Linked DNA regions of Homo sapiens: all the other regions are linked to region 1. The links are contacts of gene promoters, found by promoter capture Hi-C in blood cells and fetal thymus (Javierre and others, 2016). All regions are on one chromosome and are shown on one strand. The core of a region is centred on a gene start or on the middle of the fragment in contact, and the rest is flanking DNA. Distances in the headings are between cores, read along the strand shown. Region 1 holds the start of XRCC5 (X-ray repair cross complementing 5). Region 2 overlaps DNPEP-AS1 (DNPEP antisense RNA 1). Region 3 overlaps IKZF2 (IKAROS family zinc finger 2). Region 4 has its middle 11 kb from the start of RETREG2.

Region 1 (2,829 bases), core at 152-2,651:
TCTTCCCCGCCCCTTCTGCCGAGCTGATCTTTCTCTTGGAAATCTTACCCGCAGGGAAGGGCGAGTGTCCGTGCCTGCCTGCCTGCCTGCTGCAGCCCGCGCAAAGCTGAGCGGCCAGGGCGCTGCTGTTCCTTTAAAGTATTATTAAAAATAATATTTCAGCTTTTAAGTAACTCCTTGAGTTTGAATCAAAAGCTGGAAGAACCTCCTGGGCTCTATGAGCACCTCTGAATATGTCTGACTCTACATTCTAGAGGCTTCAATGTATTTATAATTTTGGCTCATAGATTCTCCACATCTTTTCAGCTTCAATTCTTGCTTTTCCCAGAAACAATTTTCAAGCAGGAGAGAATATTGATTGGACTTGATTTTCTCAGTTTGGGCAGAGGTTTGCAGACACTTTGCAGGTTGCCAGACCCTTCGTCCAGCCACCTGTCAGCTGGGGGTCATATGGTATAGAAAGCAGTCATTTCTATGCAAGGTACTGCTTGGGCCTGCCTCCCTCAAAGGGGTAGGGGATGCGGGCTGGACAAAGGGCTCGTGATCAAGTAAAGCACTGTGATGACAGCTGCTATTTCTATATCTCCCTAGACTTGTCTTCTAAATTAAACCTTGACTCCTCCCTTCCAAGCTGGAGCCACTGCTAACTACTGGGAGAGCCTTAGCAGATAAAGTCTCATGCCTCCAGGCGTTTGTGCATCCCATTTTCTCTGCAGAGTAGAATCTCCCTTCTACTTTTGTGCTCCTGGGGACGTCCTACTCTTCTTCCCCAGTTGGCTCTAAGGTTATCACATCGGTGAAGTGTTTCATTATCACTTTTTAGAAGAAACTGAGTCTTTTAGAGAAGTTAAGTGACTTTCTGCATTCATACTCATACTCAAGAAAATCTAACTCCACAATAACCAAAAATAAAAAGTAGAAAAAAACCCACAAGTGATGAGAAAAAAAAAAATCAAAAGTTATAAAAAATAAATGAAAAAATGAAATTAAAGGAAAAAAGATTTTTTAAAAAAGTAAAAAAAAGAAAAGAAATCTAACTCCAGAGCTCTGACACAAAATGCCTTAGGTGTTATTCTCAATGAGAGAAAAGGGACGTGAATCTTTAAGTGATTAAGTGAATCTTTAAGTAAATCTGTCGTACTAGCGTTTCAGGCGGCTCAAACACCACACGCTCCCGACTACGGCGGAATGGAGAGAATGTGCGCATGCTCGGCGGGAATCTGCGCATGCTCGGCGGGAATCTGCGCATGCTCGGAGAGAATCTGCGCATGCTCGGCCGGAATCTGCGCGAGCTCGGCGGGAATCTGCGCAAGCTCGGCGGGAATCTGCGCATGCTCAGAGTTCCGGGGCACGGTTTCCCCGCCCCTTTCAGGCCTAGCAGGAAACGAAGCGGCTCTTTCCGCTATCTGCCGCTTGTCCACCGGAAGCGAGTTGCGACACGGCAGGTTCCCGCCCGGAAGAAGCGACCAAAGCGCCTGAGGACCGGCAACATGGTGCGGTCGGGGAATAAGGTATAAAGAAAGCCATGGACTTGGGCTTTACCCGGACTGGGGATCCGGAGAGGGTGGTTCGGAAGCAGGAATCGTGGGATCGCGGTCAAGACAAAGAATGGGGCAAGAGAAGATCATGGTGGTGGGCTCAGTCAGGAGGGCCGGGACCGAGGGATGCGCTATGAGAAAAGCTGGAGATTTGGGGCTCCAAGACCTGAATTTGAGCCTCGCTGACTCCACCTCTTCCATTACCCACCCATCCCATCCCTCTTCTCCCTCTCTACCTGCTCTTTGTCTCACCTGCCTCCCCACCCGCCTCCCCTCTCTCTCTCTTTATCCCATTCCACTCCCTAGCCCCACTTCCTCTATTACTTCCGAGCCTGGGTTCTTAAGATCTCTATGAGAATGAAAATTAGCTGTGATAAAGCAACTATCCCACAGGGCTTGTTGTAAAACTTAAGAGAGGGACTATCTGTGACTAAAATAACTTAAACTGTAAAGCGTCGTATTATTAGCTTTATAATAACGTAGTATCCCGCATTTATTGAAAGCCCACTCTGTGAGGGACGGATCTAAACCTTTTATTCTTATCTCATTTAATCTTCACAACCCCTTGAAGTGAAAACTATTTATCCCCATTTTGCAAGTGGGAAAACCGAGGAATAAAGAACTGTGGGCTTTTCCTGGTGAAATCCGGATTTGAATCCAAGCTGTCTGGTTTCAGGGCCCTGGAGAACCCCTGTGTTGCTAGAAATCTATGACCATTGGTGTCCCAGATCAGTAACAGAAATTACAATGAATTTTAAAGTGATTTTTTTTTTTCAACATAAAAGAGTGGTAGTTGTCTCTGAAGGGTCACTAGAGGGAGATGTGGTTCCAGGGATTAATGAATTTATTCAATACAGATAAACAAGATACGAGTTTGAGCAACTGATCCCTAGTTCCCTCAACTCCTCATTGAGAAATGTTGATTAAAACGATCATGAACTTTTAATAATGCCACTCACCTCCTTTTTTCGTCCTCTTTCAGCTGCTGAAAACTTTGTAGCTCTAGTGGAGGAGCTGTTTGTTGCAGATGAACTGGAAGTAAAATTCTAACAGCCTGTATTGCTTCGGTATAGAAATGAAGAGTTGCTATGCTACCCGGTTTCTCTTTCTCAGTTTTCTTACTGCTGCCAGATAGGAACTCAGAAATATAGACCATTCTGCTTCCAGACAATAAGTTCCATATTTGAAACCCTTTGATGGCACTTACTGGATACCTAATTCATGACAAAAGTGCTTTAGTCCTCTAGAGTTTTCTGGTTTAAAAGTAGCTTTTGTGGGTGTGTATCAAATA
Region 2 (2,829 bases), core at 225-2,724, 3.3 Mb after region 1:
TCTTCCCTTTCTCCTGCATTATCAATCTCCACAGTTCTGGCGGGTCAAGCTGATTAGCATATACATGTGCTATAATTTCTCCCAAGAAAAAATAATCCTCCCTTAACCCCCAGTCTCCCTCCAGCAGTGGCCTCATTTTCCTTCTCCTCTTTATGTAAATCTCTTTTAAAAAGAACTATCTAGTCTTATGTTTTCCCGATTCCTCTCCTCCCATTCTCTTGTAAATCCTCTAGAATGAGGTTTTACCGCTGTCATTCCACCGCAACTTTTCTTGTCAAGGTCAAAAGCAACCTCCACAATGCTGAACCCAATGGTCGATTTTCAGTCCCCATTGTCGTTGACCCATGGGTCCTATTTGACATAGCCGTTTGCTCTCCTGGGAACACTCTCTTCACTTGGCCTTCCAGACACTTACTACCCTCACCACCACTCCTTTGGGTCTCTTCTGGCTCCTCCTCATCTCCCATCTTTAATGTTGTTATTATTTTATTATATTCATGTTTTTAAAATAGAGATGAGGTCTCACTTTGTTGGCCAGGCTGGCCTCCAACTTTGACCTCAAGCGATACTCTTACCTGGGGCTCCCAAACTGCTGGGATTACAGGCATGAGCCACGGTGCCTGGCCTCATCTCCCATCTTTAAATGGAAGGCCTCAGGGCTCAGTGCTTAGAAATCTCTCTACCCTCACTCCCTTGCTAATGTCCAATCTCATGACTTTAAATAGTATCCATACCCTGACAATTGTCAAATTTATGTATCCCTAGCCCAGATATCTCTTCTGAACTATATATATTCTCATATATCCAATTGTTTTTGCACAGTCTCCATATGTGTGCCTAATAGGAATCTCCAGTGTAATATGTCTTAATCTGAACTCCTTGTTCCCCAAACCTATTCCATCCACATTCTTCCCATCTCAGTGTTGTGCTGAACCCCTGTCCACTCCAATAAGGAAGGCCCCAGGTTCAAGAGGCCAAAGAAGAGACCCAGAGCCAGCAAACAAGACAAGGTTTTTTTTTTTTTGAGAGGGAGTCTCACTCTGTTGCCCAGGCTGGAGTGCAGTGGTGCGATCTCGGTTCACTGCAACCTCCACCTCCTGTGTTCAAGTGATTCTCCTGCCTCAGCCTCCTGAGGATTACAGACATGCACCACCATGCCCAGCTAATTTTGTATTTTTAGTAGAGACAGGGTTTCACTATGTTGGCCAGGCTGGTCTCGAACTCCTGACCTCAAGCAATCTGCCCTCCTCAGCCTCCCGAAGTGCTGGGATCACAGGCGTGAGCCACTGGGCCCGGCCGACGTGGGGTCTATTGAGGAGAACTTACATACAAGATGGTCCAGTGGTGGCGAGCTGGACAGTAGAACCACTGTCACCTGCAGAAAGCACGCATTTTCACTCAACACCTGCTCCCTAACAACCTCTACCTGGCAACCTTCATTTAACCCAAAACAAAGCGCCTTGATCCCCTGTATGGCCCTTGTTCCACAGGATGGGAAGGGGGCTCAGAGGTTCCTCATAGATGAGGATCTCTAGGTTGCCCACTCCAGGATTTCTTAGCTCAGAACTCCAAACACACATCAAGTATATCTGCCATTCAGGGTCATTCTCAGGGTGTGCTTCAGTTATTGCTGTCAGGTGCATCTGCCATACATTCAGTAAATGGCAACTTTGTCCTTCCAGTTTCAGGTCATAACTCTTGGCGTTAGCCTTGGTGCATCTCTTTCTCTTGCACCCCATGTCAGATCCATCAGCAAACCCTGCCTCCCAAGCTCCTTCACAAAGCCTTCCCTAGCATCTCCAGAGGGAAGTGCTTAGGGAGGCCAATCCTCCTCTCCTAGCGCCAGTGTCATCTCCTGTCTTAGGATCCACAGGAAGAAGTCTCTGTCAACTGGAAGTAACCTGCTGGCCTGTGACATGTAATCAATTTTACTTTGCTGCTGCAATCCTCAGTGCCTGGCAGGTAGTGGATATACAATAAACACTTACTGAATTAAAGAAATTTTGAAAAATAATTGTTCTTTGTGAAAAAGGGCCCTCATGGGATAATACTCAGCGATAAAAAGGAACGAGTGGTTGCTAAATGCAACGCTGTGGATGGATCTCAGGTGCCTTATGCTGAGTGAAAAAAATGACAAAATTATAGAGATGGAGAACAGATTAGTGGTTGCTCAGGGCTAGGGAGGATTTGGGGAGGGATGTGTGACTATGAAGGAGTAGCTCAGGAATATCTTGATGGTGATGGATAGTTCTATGTCTTGATTATAATGGTGGTTATGACTCTAACCATGATAAAGTTAGGGTTGCCAAATGAAATACAGAATGCCCAGTTTAATTTGAATTTAAGATAAACAAGGGCTGGGCGTGGGTGGCTTACACCTCTAATCCCAGCACTTTGGGAGGCCAAGGCAGGCGGATCACTTGAGGTCAGGAGTTCGAGACCAGCCTTACCAACATGGTGAAGCCCCATCTCTACTAAAAATACAAAAATTAGCCAGGCATGGTAGCGGGCACCTGTAATCCCAGCTACTAGGGAGGCTGAGGCAGGAGAATCGCATGAACTTGGGAGGTGGAGGTTGAAGTGAGCTGAGATCGTACCACTACACTCTAGCCTGGGCAACAGAGCAAGACTCCATCTCAAAAAAAAAGAAAAAAAAAGATAAGGAATAATCTTTTCAGTATAAGTATGTCCCAAATATTGCATGGGATATGCTTATACTAAAAACAAAATTTAACTGAGTTTCCTGTATTTTCATTTGCTAAATCTGGCAAACCTAGAAAAAAATAGCATCAAACCCTACGCACACACATTTTACCTGTGTCACTTTCC
Region 3 (2,829 bases), core at 106-2,605, 3.1 Mb before region 1:
GAAAGGTAGGAAAATTCAGTGCACAATTCAGTTGATGTATTTAATAACCAATAGGTTACCAATTTTGAAGAAAATGAAACATAGTGTGAAAAAATGTTTTCATGATTTGGACATGTTTAAAGAAATCAACATTCCATCCAAGTTTTGATTAACCTATAGATGGGTCAAAAAAATTGAATTGTAATCTACATTTAATAAGAAGTCCTCTGGCTATGAATAGCAAGGGATTGTGCAATTATTAGATGTTAATTTGGAAAAAAGTTTCAAGGTGAGACTGAGGAACAAGGAAACAGATCATTGTCTGCACTATATCATTAATGATGTTATCACATTGAAAAAGTATGTCCCAAGATATTATGTATAAAACATTATATTCTCTTTTAGTAACAACTAAAAAAGTGACACAAAAGTAAAAGAGTCAACAAAAAAGCAAAGAATTTCAAAAACATTCAAGGATGACCAATTCACGTAAGGGGAGTCAGAAGAATGGCACAGTGGTGGTGGTGTGGTGGAGAACCAGGTAATGAGATACAAATTGTGGTCAAAATCTTAACTTTTTGTTTGGATGATGGATTTACAAGCACTTACTACATTATTAGAAATAACAATAAAACTAAAAAGCAGTCCAAGTATGGACCAAAGATGAAAATATGTCAGACCAAGATCCAAAATGAAAGAATTTGGCAAGAAAAAAAAAATGTTGTTGTAAATTTTGCTAAAAAACTAGCAAAACTGGTTAACGGGTTTGCCCCCAAAATTAAATATGCTAATTTGTTCTGAAATGAGTAGTCCAAAACCTGGCAGTTTTGCTCTAAGTTTCACCCTGAATTTTCATATTTGAACGCATTTAACACTCAAAACGAAACCTGGGTGTGGGAACTGTCCCACACCACATCCACCTCAATTCAGATGATTTGTCCCGAGTTCAATGAAGCTCATGTGAACTGAAAATGATGATTTTGGCAGAGTTCTGATCTAATTTCTACTTTACAATAGCCCTTTTCATGTCAAAAATTGATCTTGTTTCTACCACATCGGCAATAATAATAACTGACGTATACTATGTGCTGTGTGCTGTTTTAAGGCTTTGCATTTAATAATTAATTTAATTCATCCAGAAACTCCATGAAATAGGTGTAATACCATCTTCACTGTACAGATGAGAACAGAAAGACCCAGAGATGTTAAGTAATTTCCTCAGGGTTTACATCTAGTTAGTAGAGAATGTTATTACTACTAGGAGTCTGGCTCCAGAGCCTGGCTCAACCATTACGCTATACTACTCTTTGTAGAGGTATTTTGAGCATTGACTTTTTGTAAACCAGTCAGACATATTTGTAAGGTCTGCCATTGGGTAAAGACCTGATACATTTTTCCTTAATTATGTAACCAATCTGATTTTGTTTTGCTTCATGGATCTGGGTGCAACTCATCAAAATATTTCTGTGTATACATTGCTAGAAACATAAAACAAATTCTCTAGATATCTCAATAATGCATTAATCACATAGACATTAATCTGGGCTAAAGATATACCAATAAGGTAACTTCCCCTGTTTGAACAAACTTTATAACCAAACATCCTCTTTGACCTTATATTTGAGGTTATAACCAAGATAAAAACATAATTCCATTAGATCACTGTTTCATCACGTTGATAACCATAACGGCAAAACCATAAGTGTATTCCCAATGTATTCTTTTGAAAAACCAAACAGTTCACCCAAATTCAAATTCCAAGTCTGAGGGACCTAGGTTAGATCACATGTCTAGCTCCTGAGCAGGAGAGGGCAGAGTACCTGGACTGAGGGTCCCACCACAGCTACATGCAACAGGAAAGTTCTCTAAAGGTAAATGGGCACTCTTGTTATCAAGAGAAGGAGGAAGGGATGTCAGGCAGGCAAAAACAACAGATGTCTTCTATATTGTTGCAAATTTTCTCCGTGTTACCCGATCTAAAAAAAAAACTTTACAGTTATCTTAGTTATTTTCTTGACAGCATTTGGCAGTGCTGACACTTGCTTTGGCTTCTGTGAAATCACTCTTTCCATGTTCCTACTCTGCTCTTACTCATCTTCATGAAATTTTTTTCCTGCTAGTGTGTTCTTGGCCTTCTTGATGTCTCACTCTGTACTTATCCGTATTGCCTTATTAAAAACTACTACGTTGGGCCACTACATAAATTATGATGGATCCTGCATCTTTGTTTCCTACTCAGACCCCTCTCAAGAGCTTGAGATCTATATATTTAACATCTTCCTAGACAGTTTTATTTGCCTATTTCATGGAGACATAAAAGAATATAGTAAAAGAAGTAAAATCTCCATTTACCTTTCTTTCTTCTATTTTCCTAATTACCATATCACTGAATGACACTACTAATTACCATATCACTGAATGACACTACTATTTACTCCATCAGCCATGCTGGTCACCTGTGGAAAATCCTAGATTTCTTCCTTTCATCCAGTCTTCTGCCTCTCCTCCTCCCTACCACATCTCTTTACAAACACACATGGAGGTACCCCAAGTGTTTTAGATGCTACATTGGTAGTTGTTCACATATGTTGTTCTTTCTGCAGGAAACACCCTTCTCCATTTATTAGTTCACATTTTTGCTTTTTAAAACTAAGCTCAATCCCGGGAAATTCCTCTTGGATGTTCTGCTGATTTAGGTATGTCCTCTCTGTCTCCATAATGCTTATCACATAGTACTATAATTGTTGTTTTACTGGTCTATCTTCCAATAGCTGGTAAATAACCTCAGGGGTTGCATTCTGTTGTATTTGTGTCTCTAATACCTTTTATGATACAAGAGAGATATAATAT
Region 4 (2,829 bases), core at 127-2,626, 3.1 Mb after region 1:
CCAAGAAGGTGGCTGGATTATCTTAAAACACAAATCTGATGACCTCTCTACTACTTACTGTTAACTGATGGCTCTCCTCCTCTGAGACATAAATTCAACCTCCCTGATACAGTCAAGAAGTCTTCTGAGGCAGGGCACAGTGGCTCACGCCTGTAATCCCAGCACTTCGGGAGGCTGAGGTGGGCGGATCACCTGAGGTCAGGAGTTTGAGACCTGGCCAACATAATGAAACCCTGTGTCTACCAAAAATACAAACATTAGCCAAGAGTGGCGGTGCACACCTGTAATCCTAGCCACTGGAGAGGCTGAGGCCAGAGAATCGCTTGAACCTGAGAGGAAGAAGTTGCAGTGAGCCGAGATCATGCCATTGCACTCCAGGCTGGGTGACAGGAGCAAAACTCCCTCTTGGGGAAAAAAAAAAAAGGGGGAAGTCTCTGAGGCTGGGTGCAGTGGCTCATGCCTGTAATCCCAGCACTTTGGGAGGTCAAGGTGGGCGGATCACCTGAGGTCAAGAATTTAAGACCAGCCTGGCGCCACAACATGGTGAAACCCCGTCTCTACTAAAAATACAAAAACTAGCCAAGAGTGGTGGTGGCGTGCTCCTGTAATCCCAGCTACTGGGGAGGTGGAGGCATGAGAATCACTTGAACCCAGGAGGTGGAGGTTGCAGTGAGCCAAGATCACCCAACTGCACTCCAGCCTGGGCGACAAAGTGAGGCTCTGTCTCAAAAACAAAACAAAAGTAATCCCAGCACTTTGAGAGGCCGAGGATGGCTCATTTGAGGTCAGGAGTTCAAGACCAGCCTGGCCAACCTAGTGAAACCCCGTCTCTACTAAAAATACAAAAATTAGCCGGGTGTGGTGGCGCATGCCTGTAGTCCCAGCTACTCAGGAGGCTGAGGTGGGAGAACCGCTTGAACCCGGGAGGCAGAGGTTGCAGTGAGCCGAGATCATGCCACAGCACTCCAGCCTGGGCGGCAGAGCAAGACTCCATCTCAAAAAAAAAAAAAAAAAAGTATTCTGAGATTTGACGCTGGCCTGTCTTTACAGCAACAGCAAACCCCAAACAGCTTGTCCTCCCCACTGCTCAGTTGTGCTGCCCTCCCCCACCTCTGCTCTACACACACACCCCCTATCCCTTCACTTGGCAAATGTCTCACTTACCTTTTTATTTTATTTTATTTTATTTTATTTTATTTTATTTTATTTTATTTTATTTTATTTTTTTGAGATGGAGTCTCGCTCTGTCGCCCAGGCTGGAGTGCAGTGGCATAATCTTCAGCTCACTGCAACCTCCACCTTCCGGGTTCAAGCGATTCTCCTGCCTCAGCCTCCCAAGTAGCTGGGACTACAGGCTCACACCACCATGCCCAGTTAATTTTTTTGTATTTTTAGTAGAGACATGGTTTCATCATGTTGGTCAGGCTGGTCTCAAACTCCTGACCTCAAATGATCCACCCGCCTCTGCCTCCCAAAGTGCTGGGATTACAATCGAGAGCTACCATGCCCGACTTTCACTTATCTTTTAAGATGCACTTCAGGCCACACCTCATCTACCAATGTCCCCTGATATCCCTCACCATGCCACCCCCCACCCCAATGTCAGTCCCACTCTCCTAGTGCTTTTGTAGTCTATTGGGCATACTTCTGTTTTCCCACTTACCACAGGGAATCCTTATACCCTCTCTGAAAGTATGTGGATATAGAGTATATAGGTCTGTGTGTGTGTGTGTGTGTGTGTGTGTGTGTGTGTATACAGATACATATATACGTATGTATACCCGCCACAATACTGCTTATTCTTGAAGGCAGAGACAATGTCTTATCATCTGAATATCCTCAAAGCCTAGCATAGTGTCTGGCACATAGTAGGTGCTCAAAAAATGCGTGTTAGACTAAATTGAACTAATACTAGAGTAACCAGTTATAGATTTTGAAGCAACTAGTGAAAAGAGTTTGGTGACTGATACATGGCTATGTTATTGATGCATGCCTTTGCTTGTCCATTACTGTTCTAGAGGGAATAGTAGCTAGGTTAAAATAATCGGCAGATAGACTTGTGAGTTCTTTTTCCCTGGACTAGGTTAAAGGCAATTCAAACAATCTAGAGCTGGAGATTCGTATTTGCTGGTTTGGGAGCGGGGTTTTCTGAGTTTAAGGTAAGATTGCCCAACTAGCTTGATCTTCTGTGATTGCATCAAATTATTATGTTGTTTGGAAAACAATTTTGGATTTAGACTCTTTTTTGAGACAGAGTCTTGCTCTGTTGGCCAGGCTGGAGTGCAGCTGTAAGGTCATAGCTCACTGCAGCCTTAAACTCCTGGGCTCAAGTGACCCCTTTGCCCCAGCCTCCCGAGTAGCTGGGACTACAGGTGCCCACTACCATGCCCAGCTAATTTTTTGTTTGTTTTGAGACAGAATTTCACTCTTGTTGCATAGGCTGGAGTGAAATGGTGCAATCTCAGCTCACCGCAAACTCCACCTCCCGGGTTCAAGTGATTCTCCTGCCTCAGCCTCCCTAGTAGCTGGGATTACAGGCATGCACCACCACACCTGGCTAATTTTGTATTTTTAGTAGAGACAGGGTTTCTCCATGTTGGTAAGGCAGGTCTCAAACTCCCGACCTCAGGTGATCCACCTGCCTCGGCCTCCCAAAGTGCTGGGATTACAGGTGTGAGCCACCGCACCTGGCCCAGCTAATTTTTAAAGTATCTTTTAGAGACAAGGTCTTGCTTTGTTGCCCAGGCTGGTCTCAAATTCTTGACTTCAAACAATCTTCCCACCACAGCCTCCTGAGAAGCTAGGATTACAGGCATGAGCCACTGCACC

Evidence for each region. Contacts are between HindIII fragments. The CHiCAGO score rates a contact against its expected background, and 5 or more counts as called.
Region 2: a contact is called between a fragment that was not itself captured here and the fragment with the promoter of XRCC5 in region 1, in 1 of 17 cell types (neutrophils). The highest score is 7.8, in neutrophils.
Region 3: a fragment that was not itself captured here is called in contact with the fragment with the promoter of XRCC5 in region 1 in 1 of 17 cell types (fetal thymus); the score reaches 5.6 in fetal thymus.
Region 4: a contact is called between a fragment that was not itself captured here and the fragment with the promoter of XRCC5 in region 1, in 1 of 17 cell types (neutrophils). The highest score is 5.7, in neutrophils.

The regions. Positions count from the first base shown.
Region 1 is chr2:216,107,947-216,110,775 of GRCh38, forward strand. It overlaps XRCC5 (X-ray repair cross complementing 5), which reads left to right and starts at 1,402. Exons shown (of 21, transcript NM_021141.4): 1 at 1,402-1,511. The coding sequence starts at 1,491. RefSeq lists an enhancer at 1,126-1,747. The HindIII fragment of the contact is 16,954 bases long and covers 1-2,829 here.
Region 2 is chr2:219,393,950-219,396,778 of GRCh38, forward strand. The region is part of intron 2 of DNPEP-AS1 (DNPEP antisense RNA 1); the gene reads left to right. It also overlaps a transcript of DNPEP not described here. Among named protein-coding and RNA genes, the nearest start is that of DNPEP-AS1, 6.8 kb to the left of the region's middle. The HindIII fragment of the contact is 3,679 bases long and covers 1-2,829 here.
Region 3 is chr2:213,015,090-213,017,918 of GRCh38, forward strand. All of the region lies in intron 7 of IKZF2 (IKAROS family zinc finger 2), which reads right to left. Among named protein-coding and RNA genes, the nearest start is that of MIR4776-2, 90 kb to the left of the region's middle. The HindIII fragment of the contact is 3,046 bases long and covers 1-2,829 here.
Region 4 is chr2:219,187,432-219,190,260 of GRCh38, forward strand. No RefSeq gene overlaps it. Among named protein-coding and RNA genes, the nearest start is that of RETREG2, 11 kb to the left of the region's middle. The HindIII fragment of the contact is 8,156 bases long and covers 1-2,829 here.